2 separate regions of the Homo sapiens genome follow, and region 1 is linked to region 2. The links are contacts of gene promoters, found by promoter capture Hi-C in human tissues and cell types (Jung and others, 2019). All regions are on one chromosome and are shown on one strand. Each heading gives the region's core, a stretch centred on a gene start or on the middle of the fragment in contact. The rest is flanking DNA. Distances are from core to core; before and after follow the strand shown. Region 1 overlaps HUNK (hormonally up-regulated Neu-associated kinase). Region 2 holds the start of HUNK (hormonally up-regulated Neu-associated kinase).

The links. Contacts are between HindIII fragments. The study calls those that stand out against the background at their distance.
Region 1: a fragment that was not itself captured here is called in contact with the fragment with the promoter of HUNK in region 2 in 2 of the 25 tissues and cell types used here (lymphoblastoid cells and thymus).

The regions. Positions count from the first base shown.
Region 1 is chr21:31,999,905-32,006,463 of GRCh38, reverse strand. HUNK (hormonally up-regulated Neu-associated kinase) reads right to left here. Exons shown (of 11, transcript NM_014586.2): 11 at 2,400-6,559. Among named protein-coding and RNA genes, the nearest start is that of LINC00159, 83 kb to the left of the region's middle. The HindIII fragment of the contact is 6,747 bases long and covers 1-5,981 here.
Region 2 is chr21:31,868,783-31,875,315 of GRCh38, reverse strand. It overlaps HUNK (hormonally up-regulated Neu-associated kinase), which reads right to left and starts at 2,296. Exons shown (of 11, transcript NM_014586.2): 1 at 1,381-2,296. The coding sequence starts at 1,641. RefSeq lists silencers at 1,023-1,202, 2,129-2,178. The HindIII fragment of the contact is 17,092 bases long and covers 1-6,533 here.

The sequences.
Region 1 (6,559 bases), core at 1,359-3,858, 130 kb before region 2:
AAAGTTTGCAGACCTCTGGATTAAAGGAAGAAAGAAACTTGAAAATAATTGGCACACTGAGCTTAAAGCACAAGAAACACTTAGAAAAGGTGGAATTTCAGGCTGGGCACAGAGGCTCACGCCTGTAATCCTAGCACTTTGAGAGACCAAGGCAGGCGGATTGCCTGAGCTCAGGAGTTCAAGACCAGCCTAGGCAACATGGTGAAACCCCGTCTCTACTAAAATACAAAAAATTAGCTGGGTGTGGCGGCGGATGCCTGTAGTTCCAGCTACTCAGGAGATTGAAGCAGAATTGCTTGAACCCAGGAGGCAGAGGTTGCAGTGAGCCGAGATCGCGCCACTGCACTCCAGCCTGGGTGACAGAGTGAGACTCTGCTTCGAAAAGGAAAGAAAAGAAAAGGAGAGGAGAGGAGAGGGTGGAATTTCACTCCAAAAAAGAGAAATTTTCTGGGAGTGATTTAGTCAGAAAAGGATAAATGGAAATTTGGCATATGGGGCAAAACATATGAGATTCCTAGAAGATGTAAATTTTACTATCTGACCTTTTCCCCGTGTTAGTCGGCCTGGGCTACTGTAATGAAATACCTCACCGGGATCTAAGCAACAGACATTTATATCCTCCCAGTTCTGGAGGATGGAAGTCTGAGATCAAGGTTTTAGCAGAGCTGGTTCGTCTTGAAGCTTCACTCCTGAGGCTGCCTTCTCTGTGTCCTCACCTGGTCTTTCCTCCGTCTGGTGTCCCATTGTGTATCCATATCTCACATTTTTTTTTGTTTTTGTTTTTTTGTTTTTTTTGAGATGGAGTCTCGCACTGTCGCCCAGGCTGGAGTGCCAGTGGCGCGATCTTGGCTCACTGCAACCTCTGCCTCCCAGCTTCAAGCGATTCTCCTGCCTCAGCCTCCCAAGTAGCTGGGATTACAGGCACCTGCCACCACGCCCAGCTAATTTTTTGTATTTTTAGTAGAGACGGGGTTCCACTATGTTGGCCAGGCTGGTCTCAAACACCTGACCTCATGATCCGCCCACCTCAGCCTCTCAAAGTGCTGGGATTACAGGCATGAGCCACCACGCCCAGCCCAGACCTCACATTTTTATAAGGGCACTTGTCAGATTTGATTAGGTTCCTCCCTAAAGGCTTCATTTTAACTTACTCACCTCTTTAAATGCCCTATCTCTAAGTAGTCACATTCTGAGGTACTGGGGCTGAGGGTTTCAACATATGAATTTGTGGAGGAAAGAATTCAGCCCAAAACACTCTCCTTAAATATTAACATTTACCAATGCTAATTCTTTTATTTTAAAAAAGTAACTCTTTACTAAGAGGTGCTATAATTGTGTGACAATGGGAAAAGGCTAGTCCAGTTTTGGGGTACCTTTAAATGGTAGGCATCTCGGCCAGGCACGGTGGCTCATGCCTGTAATCCTGGAACTTTGGGAGTCCAAGGCGGGCATATCACTTGAGGTCAGGAGTCCAAGACCGGCCTGGCCAACACGGTGAAACCCTCGTCTCTACTAAAAATACAAACATTAGCTGGGCATGGTGGCATGTGCCTATAGTCTCAGCTACTCAGGAGGCTGAGGCACAAGAATCGCTTGAACCCAGGAGGTGGAGGTTGCAGTGAACCGAGATTGCGCCACTGCATTCCAGCCTGGGTGACAGAGGGAGACTCCATCTCAAAACAAAAGCAAAAACAAAAACAAAGAACAAATAAATGGCAGGCAGCTGTACCTTCCCTAAGATGGGAGAAACATTAGCTGCATCCCAAGTAGCCCTATGCTCCTGTATTTCCCAGCCTCTTGCTCACAGACAAGGCAGTGTGACCAGTTCCAGTCAATGGGCTGTGGGAGAAGTGATGAGTCCCCTCATAGAATGTTTAAGGGCTGGTGGAAAACTCTCCAGCCGTGCCTTCCTGTGCTGGAGCAGCCAAAGACGTTTCATTTTGAGGGGACACAGCCACAAGTTGGATGTAGCCTGGATCCCTGAGTCACCATATGGAAGACAGCCGTTTTGTGGTCAGCCCAGCCTCATAAAAATATTTTAAGAAATAAACCTTTATTGGGCAAGTCACAGAGATTTGGAATTAATTTGTGATCATAGCAAAGCCTAATCTTCTAGCATACTGGTTGCCAGAGGAGGTGAGCACTGAACACTGATGAAGGAGTCAGGGGAAGGCATTCTCATCTCAGATCTGCCAAGAACTTCACTGCCCTACTTTCGGCAAGAAGACTTGTTCCCAATATAGGCTTGCAATTTGCCCTTTCCAGCTGGCTATGGTAACAAGACTAGAAAGAACACATTTTTAAAAAAAATTATAGAGTTTAAATGTAAACCAAAGCCTTTGCTTTCAAAATTGCTAATAGCCCATCTTCCAAGTAGGAAATACAAAGAGCTGAGGCCCTGAAGTCAGACCCATTTATTTTTTTCACCTGTAAATGATACAGCTTCCTGTGCCATCTTTAAGTTTTAAACCACTCAACTCCAATTGATCCTCAAGTTTGCTCCACATAAAGCTATTCTATCCTTCCAAAATTGGTTGCCCCAAATGCCTCATTATTGGAACACCACCAGCTCAGATGTGGATACATGTGGAGGGGGACTGCAAATCCTGAAATGCTCCTCACCTTCTCTTCCAAAGCCTCCTCAGCTTTCTCCCCCAACCTCAGTCCCTTAGTGCCCACAGACGTCAACTCCTAGAGATAACTGTGTGTCACAAAAACATGTCCACAGAGAAGAAGTACAAATATATATCCTATTTGTCTTTGCAACCAGATGTCTGGAAAGCTCCCTTAACAGAAAAGCTGCCACAAATAATATACTCATTTACTACTCAGGAAATGCACTCCCTTCATTGAAAAGTGATGACATGAAATTGAACCAACTCCCAGTACCGCTCTGAATTATTCTTACTGTGCCTGTAGCTCACAGAAGACCCCACAAAGAAAATAAATACACTAACCAACAGGCTTCCAGACTCCCCCAAAAGATAGCAGTTTTGCATTCTTTCTGAATTTGCTTCAGTGTATGATATGGCTCTATAGGAAATGTTTTATTGATTTAATCTAGTAAAACCCAATAGCCTCTTAATACCTAAAGTAGATAACAAGGCTATCCAGGGGTTTGCTGCTTACTTGGGAAGTCAACTGAGAAAGACAGAGTTCCCAAAGAAAGCTGTCTTTCCCCAGCTTCAAGAGTGGATGGGACAAACAGCATAAGGTTCAGGAAGCTGCACAGTTTTGAAAAGGACTTAAAAATGCAAGACCTAGTCCCTGCAGGAACTTCAGAAATACCTGTTGTGATGACGGCTTGATCTGTTGTTGACATCCCCCTCTGACCATGGCAGCCACTCTCTGATTTCTCTGTGTTCTTTGAGGGAGAAACTCTGCTCCAGACCAGCTCAAATGCCAGCTCATCTGGGGACTCTGGGGTGTCCTTAAACCATCTGGGTCCCTAGTTTTCCCTTCTTCAGAAAGGCTGGGGCTGAGCCAGAGAATCTTAGGTCCTTTTCTATTCTAAAGTGTTGGGATTCTTACAAGAAAACATTGTCATCAAAACTAGATACTTGTTCTTTTCCCCGGAATCCGACTACTGGGGCTTTGCACAGTGAACAGTGAGCTTCTCCACTTTCTAGCTATGTCACCCTCTAAGGCTTCGTCCCCTCACTTCCCAGGGGAAACAAGGTGGTATATATGAAAAACGTTTTGTGAACAGTTATGAAGGAAGCAGTAACTGGGACAATTTCAAGAGGTCATCTAGATCCCACCCTCCCATTCCATCCCATCATCCCTCTTCCCCTATCCATGACCAAGGCCTCCTACAAGGACAAAATCTAGAAGTCACGTTCATAACTGCCATTCTTTGTGTGCCATTTTCAGAGTCTCCAAGGAAGATCCTAATATCCCCAAATGAAAAAGGTTGATTCTTCTTGAACTGCCACCTGCAGTGTGTATGTCAGAAAGACTTTTGTAGGCACACCTATTGCAGGTAAAATAAGGCAGGGAAACTGGCCCAGAAAATGCCCCCCAATGCAATTCCCGCTTGTTTCCAGTCAGATGCTAGGTCAAGAGCTTTACATAAGGCCAGGCACAGTGGCTCACGCCTGTAATCTCAGCACTTTGGGAGGCCAAGGTGGGCAGATCGTTGGAGCCCAGGAGTTTGAGATCAGCCTGAGCAACATGGCGAAACCCCATTTCTACAAAATACAAAAAAAATTAGCTAGGCATTGTGGTGCACAACTGTAGTCCCAGCTACTTGGGAGGCTGAGATGGGAGGATCACTTGAATCTGGAGAGGTTGAGGCTGCAGTGAACTGTGATTGTGCCACTGCACTCCAGCCTGGGTGACAGAGCAAGACCCTGTCTCAAAAAAAGAAAAAGAACTTCACATAAAAGATGGTACCTGTACTATTATTTGCAACGTACTTAGTTGTTTTAAGATTTATCAGCAAATAAAGAAGCAGTCGTAGTGAGGGAAAAGTGTATTTCACAGTCATTACAAAAGTACATATATCTAATAATGGTGACATAAATATAGTCCTTACTTATGACCAAATCATACAATTAAAATGGACATTTCCTCCTAGACTTCACACAATGACAGTCCAGTCAATTTCTGTCAGTAACTACAGGGTGACTGGAATCACAGGCACAGACTGAGGAAGACAGTCACGGTCGAACAGACAACATGCTTCGGACTTACCAAAGGGAGAGTCGAGCTTTCCATATAAATATAATAAAATAATAAAGAATCTAACATTTCTCCTTTCACTCGGTTTCATAGATTTGTCAGGTGCTCACACACACACACACACACAAATACAGCTGATCCCCTTTCATCACTCCCCCTCACCTCTCACTGGGTTTAGAATAAACCTGAGTTCAGAGTCCAGGTCGCCAATGGCAACGCGGTCAGTTAGCGGCACATGTGCAGCTGTTCTTGAAGCCTGCCAGGAATAAGAAGCACGTTCTCCACAAGCTAACGGCAAGGCGGAAGTACCCCTGCTCTCAAGGAAAATGCATCAGGGGTTCCAGCAAGTTCCCAATGCGCAGGTATACACCCTGCAAGCCTGCAAAGTGGAGCCGTTGCAGCTGGAAACCGTCTTTAGAAAAGGTACACTTCATGTCGAATGGAGAGATGGTCTTAGATGATTATTTTCTTCTCTCTGCTTATAAAGCTCTATTTTCTTTTTTTGGAGACAGGGTCTCACTTTGCCACCTAAGCTGGAGTGCAGTAGCATGATCTTGGCTCACTGCAGCCTCGACCTCCTAGGTTCAAGTGATCCTCCCACCTCAGTCCCCGAAGTAGCTGGGACTACAGGCACGTACCACCACACCCAGCTATTTTTTTTTGTATTTTTCGGTAGAGACGGGCTTTCACCATGTTGCCCAGGCTGCTCTCGAACTCCTGAGCTCAAGCGATCCACCTGCCTCGGCCTCCCAAAGTGCTGGGATTACAGGTGTGAGCCACCACACCTGGCCTAAAAGCTCTGTTTTCAATGGTAAGTTCTGGAACCCAGTCTGAAGCTATACAAAAAATAACACCAATGGCCAAGGGGTCTGACCTCATCCTAGAATGCCCTAGAGCCGTGGTGATCCCCTAGGGAAGAAACAGGCAGCTCCAGGTCTCACCAAGGTCAGCCAAATATCCATTCTGTCCCGCTCTGTCAGAGATGTGAGGGACTGAAGGATGTCACCACTGGTGAATGAGAGAATGATTCAGAACTGCCTCTCTGCCTTCTGGCAAGGCTGCCTGCCAGGGAAATAAAGGCTGGCTTTGCAATTCTAGATTTGTGTTTTGGGATCCTTGGACTGAGATGACTATCTGAGGTGGCCACAGAGGTGGTCTCTGGTCACACCTGCACCGGTCAAAAGTTGAAGACTCCAGGCCATTCTGTAACTGGTCTCCTACACTAACCCCTATCCAACCTGTGCTGATGGGTCTTCTTTTTCTGATTCTTCTCACCAATGACTGCACCCTGTCAAGTGCCAGCTGGATACAGTCAGACAACACGGCTGTCCACAAAACACACACAGGGGCACAGACACAATACTGGAGACACATCTTTGGTTCGATCCTTGGAGAAAGGTGTGAAAACACAACGTGGACTGAACCCTGTTTGAGGAGCTTGGCTTTCCTCGAAGAAGAAACTGGCCTGTATCTGAACAGGTTCTCTGCCAGGCAAGCCTGCTCCCAGCTCCCAGCAAACTCGCCGAGCTCTGAGCCGCACCAGTTCTGTGGGCAGCTTGAAATCAGCATCGCACAGAGATAATGCTGCCTTCTCGCCATCTGAGTTATGCTCTGAATTGTCACAATCATCTTTTCCCTCTTTCTACAGAACCAGCTGTAACCGTGTTCTATGCCTTCCAGAAGGATCAGGGCTATGCCTTAAACAACAGGATGAACACAGGGCCACCGAGACTTGCCCTGCCTGTGGGCCACAGCACTCAGCAAATCACCACAGTCAGCTTTTTTGCTCTCCACACTGAACCCTCCTGTGAAAACATGAGTTTGGTGGAATTGCTTCTCATCTCTCCATCCAAGTTTTAAAAAATTATGTTATTTC
Region 2 (6,533 bases), core at 1,047-3,546:
AAAGGCTCCAAGACAAAGAGGGGAAATGGGGTGGGGAGGGAACTACAGGTGGGGTGAGGCTAGAGACAGGCAGGAAGGGCAGGTTGGCCCTGTGACCAGGGGTTTCACAGGGCAGCCCCAGGCTGGGCAGAGGCCCCCAGGTCGGAAGGCAGAGGGCTCGGCTCCCAGGCCACCTGCTCGGTTGGGAAGTGAACTCCGCCTTCCCTCCTTGCGGCTGACGCCTCCCTGACCCACGGACCACACAAAGGAGCTGGTCCCCCTCCAGGTTTGAGCCACCCCCAGCCTGGGGGCAGTCTTGAGCCCGAGATGACAGGAGCTTGGGACAGCTCCAGCCTGGATTGGCTCTGAGCTCGGGCAGCTCCAGCCTGGGGTGACCCGGCCTCAAAAGCGAGTCACCAAGCTCTTGGGTTTCTTCTCACAGCTCTAAGTTACACCTTCCATCTTACCTGCCCCTCGCCTGGCAAGGGTTCACAACCATCTAACTTCCAACAAGGCTGGAGAGGTGCCCCTTTTGGTCTCGCGGAGGTCCCCTTTCCTTTCCCCTCTTCTAGAAAGATAAGAAGGCATCTCCCAGTCTCTGGGGGGAGGTATCTGTAGTTCTGTTCCTGCCAGTAGCAGGGTCTTCACTGCAGCTCCCACCCTGAGGCTGGAGGGCACAGAGGAGCTGGGGGAACGGAGAGAAGGGGATGAGAATGGCGGGGATGAGAATGGTGGGTGATGAGGGGGCAGGGGTGGGAGGGTTGAGTGGATAGAGAGGAGCACAGGTTGAGGGATGGACAAGTGGAGGGCGGAGGCAAAAACCCTCCTCTGAGCACGAAAAATTCCCTAGCTGCCAAAAAACATTCCCTAGCTGCCGGAGCCCACAGGTGGGAAGGAATGCAGGATCTCAGCCTTCTCCCACCTCCTCCGAGAGCCCAGGACGGGGATCAGACTCTAAGCTCCCCCCAGAGGCTGGCTGTTAGCTTTCCTGCCCCCCCCGCCCCCCGACATAAGAGCCCACCTCCTCTAGCCCTGGTTCCCGCCTCGCCACGGATCCGCCGCCCCTGCCGGCCTGAAGGGCAGAGGGGCCCCATCCCGCCCCCCGCGCTAGTGTCGCCAGGCGGCGCCCTTCCACGAGCAGAACGGCCGCGCGGGACGCTTCCCGGGGCAAGGCCGTCCCCTCCCAAGCCCCCAACCCCCGGGCAGCGGACCGCAGGCCGCCTTCGGGAAAGGCTGCGAGATGCTGAGCGCGCGTTTTAACCCAACAGGAAAGCCGGGCGGAGGGGGAAGGCGCTTGGCCCGGGACTGCACACTGGGACTCCCAGTGCAGTGCTCCCCGCGGGGTCCTGGCCGCCGACTCCCGCCCCTGTGCCCCAGCCCCACGGCGCCCGGGAGACTCACCTTCTCCCCGGTCAGCACGTGCAGCCCCTCGCGCACCTTGGCAAAGGAGCCCTCGCCCAGCTTCCTGCTGCCGATGAGGTAGTTGCCCACGCGCTTGTGGTGCTGGAAGTCGCGGAGCCGCTCGCGGGGCACGCCGCTCACCCAGGCAGGCAGGAAACTTCCCTCGCAGGCCGCCGCGGGCCTGGCCGCGTCCTCCGCGCCGCCGCCGCCCCCAGGCGCCGCCGGCTCCCCCAGGAGCCCGTCCCCCGCCGCCGCCGGCATCGCGCTCGCCGCGGCCCGCGCGGCTCCTGCTCGTCTCCCGCGCTCGCAGCTCCTCCTCCCCAGGCTCTTCGGCTTCCCCGGCTTCTCCCGCCGCCGCCCTGGGCCCAGCCCCGCCTGGGTCTCCGCACCCAGAGCCCGGGGCCGCCGCGATCACGCCCCCCGCGCCGCCCAGCGAGGCGCGTAGACAATAGCGGCTGCCCAGGGGACGCGGGACCGGGGACCCCGCCCCCAAAAGTTCTTCCTCTTAGGGTCGCCCGGGCCCCTTTCAGGACACCAGGATCCCGCCCCGGGTCCCGTCCAGGAAGCTAATGACAGTCGCCCTGCTCGGGCGCGCGGGGTGGGGCGCGGTCCGGCGGCGCCTGGGTCCCGGGGTCCGGGTGCCTGGGTCCGGGAGCCCGGGTGCCTCCGCAGCCTCCGCCTCGCCGCCGCCGTCTGGCCCGCACGGGCTTGGGTCGGGCTCCCGCGATCGCTCCTAGCCGTGCGCTGGGCGGCCGCTCCCGCCGGAGAGAAGCGCGCGGCGGGCTGCCGGCGCCCTCTGGAAGGCAGCAGAAGAAAGCCCCATTCAGTTTGAATTTGCAGAAATTTAATCCGCTCGCGGGCGGCGGGAACAGATGCGAGCTCCACTCCGCAGCCCGTGCACTTTCAAATCCCTAGTAGCCCCTCCTTCCCCGCGCGCCACAGTCAAACTCGACCCTCGCTGGAGAGGGGAGGGCCCGGGGAGGGGAGCGGCGGAGTGGACGGAGAAGCCACCTGAGCGCCAGACAGGGAGAACCTGCGCGGCCTCGGAGGCGCGCGCTCCCGGGCCGCCCAGGTCGGGCCGCCTCCGGCTGCGCCTCTTGCCCGGATTCTGGGCTTGGGTTTTCTGGACCTTTCGGCGGTGAAATCCCCCACTGGCCGCACCCACCCGGGGCGGGGGGAAGGGGGAAGGCTCTCGAACTCCGTGGACTGTGAGTCGGGTTGCGTGCCCGGCCCTGAGTCCGCCACACAGTAGGGCCCCCTGGACCGGGGGTGGAAGGATAGATGGATGGCTGGAAGAAAGGGTGGGGAGGCGGCCAGGCGTCTGCCCGGGCTCGCACGCAGCCTGGTTGGCTGTGTTGGAGGAGGCGCAGCCACAGCAGTAATAGTAGCAGCAGCAATGTAGGAACCAGGGCGTTTGCTGCCTCTGCTTGTAGCTTACACCTTCTTTGCCTTCCATTGAAATGATGCCTGTGATTGCAGGAGGTGGACCGGCGCTCGCCTCTCTTCGATGCTTTTGTTCTGCAAGCGCTGTGACTGTGCTCATCGCATAAACAATTGCAACTGCCCTGACGACACTGGACCCTCTCCCAGGATCCCCAACGTCTTCTCAAACCGAAAATGAAGAATCTTGTGAGGGAGAAGGAGGAGGGTAGGTAGGAGGAGGCATTTACAAAATGCTACCTGTTGAGGTGCCCGCATTTGATGGAAACTTCACCCCGATCATGCAACATCAGAGCTGAAAGGAAGGATTTGGTCCTAACAAAGTTCCTTTCATTGTTTATTCCTGAGTAAACAAGTATGACATCGACCCATAGCAATGCTTTGAGATTGGGAGTGGGGGGTGGGGGAACAACAGCTGTCATCAATCCAGTGTCTGGGGGTCTCGCTGACCCATCTGAAGAGGGACGCAGAGAAATGCCTGCTTTCAATACATCTAATTTTAAATACGCTACTATATTCATCCACCTACCTGTTACAAGTCACCAGCCTCAGTTATTATGACGGAACATACTGCGTTTTCTGTTGTTCTGTCTCATTGTTCCCGTTTACCAATATTAAAGATACAGCTTAAAATGTTTTTCTTGCTGTGCTGAAGGGACTTCTTTGCTCCCACCGGCCTTGACTATTTCAGTAACGTTCATTCAATCCTTTTAATGTCTCTAATTCAGTAATCAAATCTTAACAGGACAGTTGCATGGGAGGGGAATGGTAACTAGCGTGGTGCCAGCAGAATAGATGTCCAGCAACTGTCTAAAGAATGAGGAATATGGAGCTCACTTTGGGGTAAAAACCACTCTGAGGCCGGGCGCGGTGGCTCACGCCTGTAATCCTAGCACTTTGGGAGGCCGAGGCAGGTAGATCACGAGGTCAGGAGTTCAAGACCAGCCTGGTCAAGATGGTGAAACCCTGTCTCTACTAGAAATACAAAAATTAGCCGGGCGTGGTGGCGGGCGCCTGTAATCCCAGCTACTCGGGAGGCTGAGGCAGAGAATTGCTTGAATCCAGGAGGCGAAAGTTGCAGTGAGCTGAAATCTTGCCACTGCACTCCAGCCTGGGCGACAGAGCAAGACTCCTTCTCAAAAAAAAAAAAAAAAAAACCACTCTGAATCTTCCATCAGAAACAGTTTGGGAGTCCACCCAATGTTGTGTTAATAGAGTATGATTTTTTTTAATGTTAGGACATGCACTCTTTATGAAAATTTAGAGATTTATTTATTAAGGTTTAAGGGAAATTTCTGAGACTGTTCCCCAAAGTATTTTTATGGTCTAAAAAAAAAAAGTTTCATAAAAATGGTGGATGACATTTACAATGAAATAGAGATTTTCTTTCCTTTTAATTATCCTCTCAGGGTAGAGGTCAGGAAAGGGGTGAAGAAGAGAGAAAATCCAGGCCCATTAAATCTTTTTCAAGCCTGCTGCCTGGGTTTGATTCAAGTTCACTGCTAATTCCATAAGCTGGGATGGATGCCAAAGAGAAGTCCAAATCCTATCCGTGCGTCCCCTTTGTAACTGGTTTTGGAACTACAAGTCCTAGTCTCTGAAATGGCCTGTTTAACAAGAAATCACCCCAGAAATGTCTTTATGTAAAACAAATTAGTACACAATATATTGCCCTCATATTCAGTGTGCAGAAAGCATCTGATTATTCAATGCAACAGTAATGCAGCCTTGAAAATTCTCTGCTAATTAGCCCAAACTAATTTCTAGCCTTATCCTCCTGCGGAGTTCCCGGGTAGGGGGTGGTGCTGGCCGGGATCCGGCCTCCCTACTGCCACACCTTTGCCTGTGCCTTGCCCGCCCCCAGTCTGCTGTCTCCGACTCATTTCCACCTAGCACAGGTGTTCCCTTTCCCATGAAGACCTCCCCAACCAATAAGCTGCAAGAAGCCCATCTCCCTCTGTTGTCTCTTAGTTCATATAGTCATTTCACATTCCTCTTATGTCCTGTAGTACTTATTATCTATGACTTTCTTCTCTTTTAGACTTATTGAGGACAGGAGCTGTGTCTAATTTCATTATTTGCCCTACAGTACCTAGCACGGTGTCTGAGACATGATCATTGTTCAGTAAATATCTGTTGAATAAATGAATGAAAGTAATCATTCACTGATTCTCAAGTGGGGTTTTACTGCTCCTGAGAGCAAGACCCCATCAAGTCCTGGGGGAGACAAGTTACCAGTGACTTTCTAAAAGCATTTTTAGGTGCATTGTTGGTTGCCTTTGGGGATCAACAAATATAATTGTTTGTCTTGTCGAAGATGGATCATTCTCTAACTTGGATGAGTTAACCCTTTCAGAAACAGGAGCAATCCCAGTGGGCTGTGAAGCCTTGGGAAGCTTTCTCAGTTGACTCGTACCAGCTGCTTCCTTCCTTCCCTTTTCCTTCCCCATCTCCTCGCCCCATATGGCTGGGAGACTGCCTCTGTGCTCCCACAGAACGCCAGCTTCTAGACCCAGCTGGAAGCAGTCAAAGACAATTAGAAGTAATCAGGCTGGCACAGCCAGGAAATGAGAGTTGGCTAGAAGGGGTTAGGCTGGCAGAAGCCGTCTGGTAACTGGAGAAGGAACGGATGGCAAAGCAAAGACGGCAGACATGGATCAACTTTGCCTGGAAGACATCCTGTGAACTCTATATGTTCATGTTCCCAAAACAAAGTGTCCCATAAATAACAGACTGGACTTGAACCCGTGTCCCCAGAGTTCGTGTCCAGCATTATTCTTTCACAACACCCAGCTGTTGAACGTGCACAATGCAATGGCTGAGGAAGAAAGGGTTCCTCAGGCATAAAGACTCGTGTGCAAAGGCAGCCCAGTGTGCTATTGCAGAGTAGGCTACTGCCAGCATCCCCACAATGAAATGCTTCTCTAAAAATGAGTCGTGACACTTACCTTTTGATGCTTCAGTTTCCTTAAGCTGCAAAAATGGGATATTAAGGAATTGTGTGGAGTCAATCAGATTGTGCACACAAAGCACTCAGATCAGTGCCTGGCACATTATAAGTACAAGGTGAATTTTGGCTTTCACACCTTCCATCAATACGACTATCATCATCATAAACTAAGAGAAGTCACTCAAGAATGCCCCAGAGGTCCACCAGCACAATTGCCCTGGTAAATGATGAATCCAAAAGCATAATCTCCAGGTTGGATCTCTTCCCTGAAACCAGAGTCCTATGTCAACCCTCTTCAACTCTGCCGGGCTGTCTGATAGGATCTCACTCACATTTAACTTGGGATACACACACACACACACACACACACACACACACACACCCACACACACCCCTCTGTGCTTCTTTCCTAAGGCTTCACCCAAATTCACCCCAAAATTTAGCAGTCATCCTTTGCTTCCTCTGCTTCTCGATTCTCATATCCAACCCATCAGCAAATCCTATACCCGCCTGTGACCCTTTCTCTCACTTCCTAAGTGGCATCCTTTGCTTCCACGCCAAAGCCAAAACCAGTTCTTCAAAATGGGAATCAGTAATCCCAGCACTTAAGGAGGCCAAGGGGGAAGATCACCTGAGGTCAGGAGTTCAAGACCAGCCTGGCCAACATGGCGGAACCCCATCTCTACTAAAAATACAAAAATTAGCCGGGCGTGGTGGCAGGCACCTGTAATCCCAGCTACTCGGGAGGCTGAGGCAGGGAGAA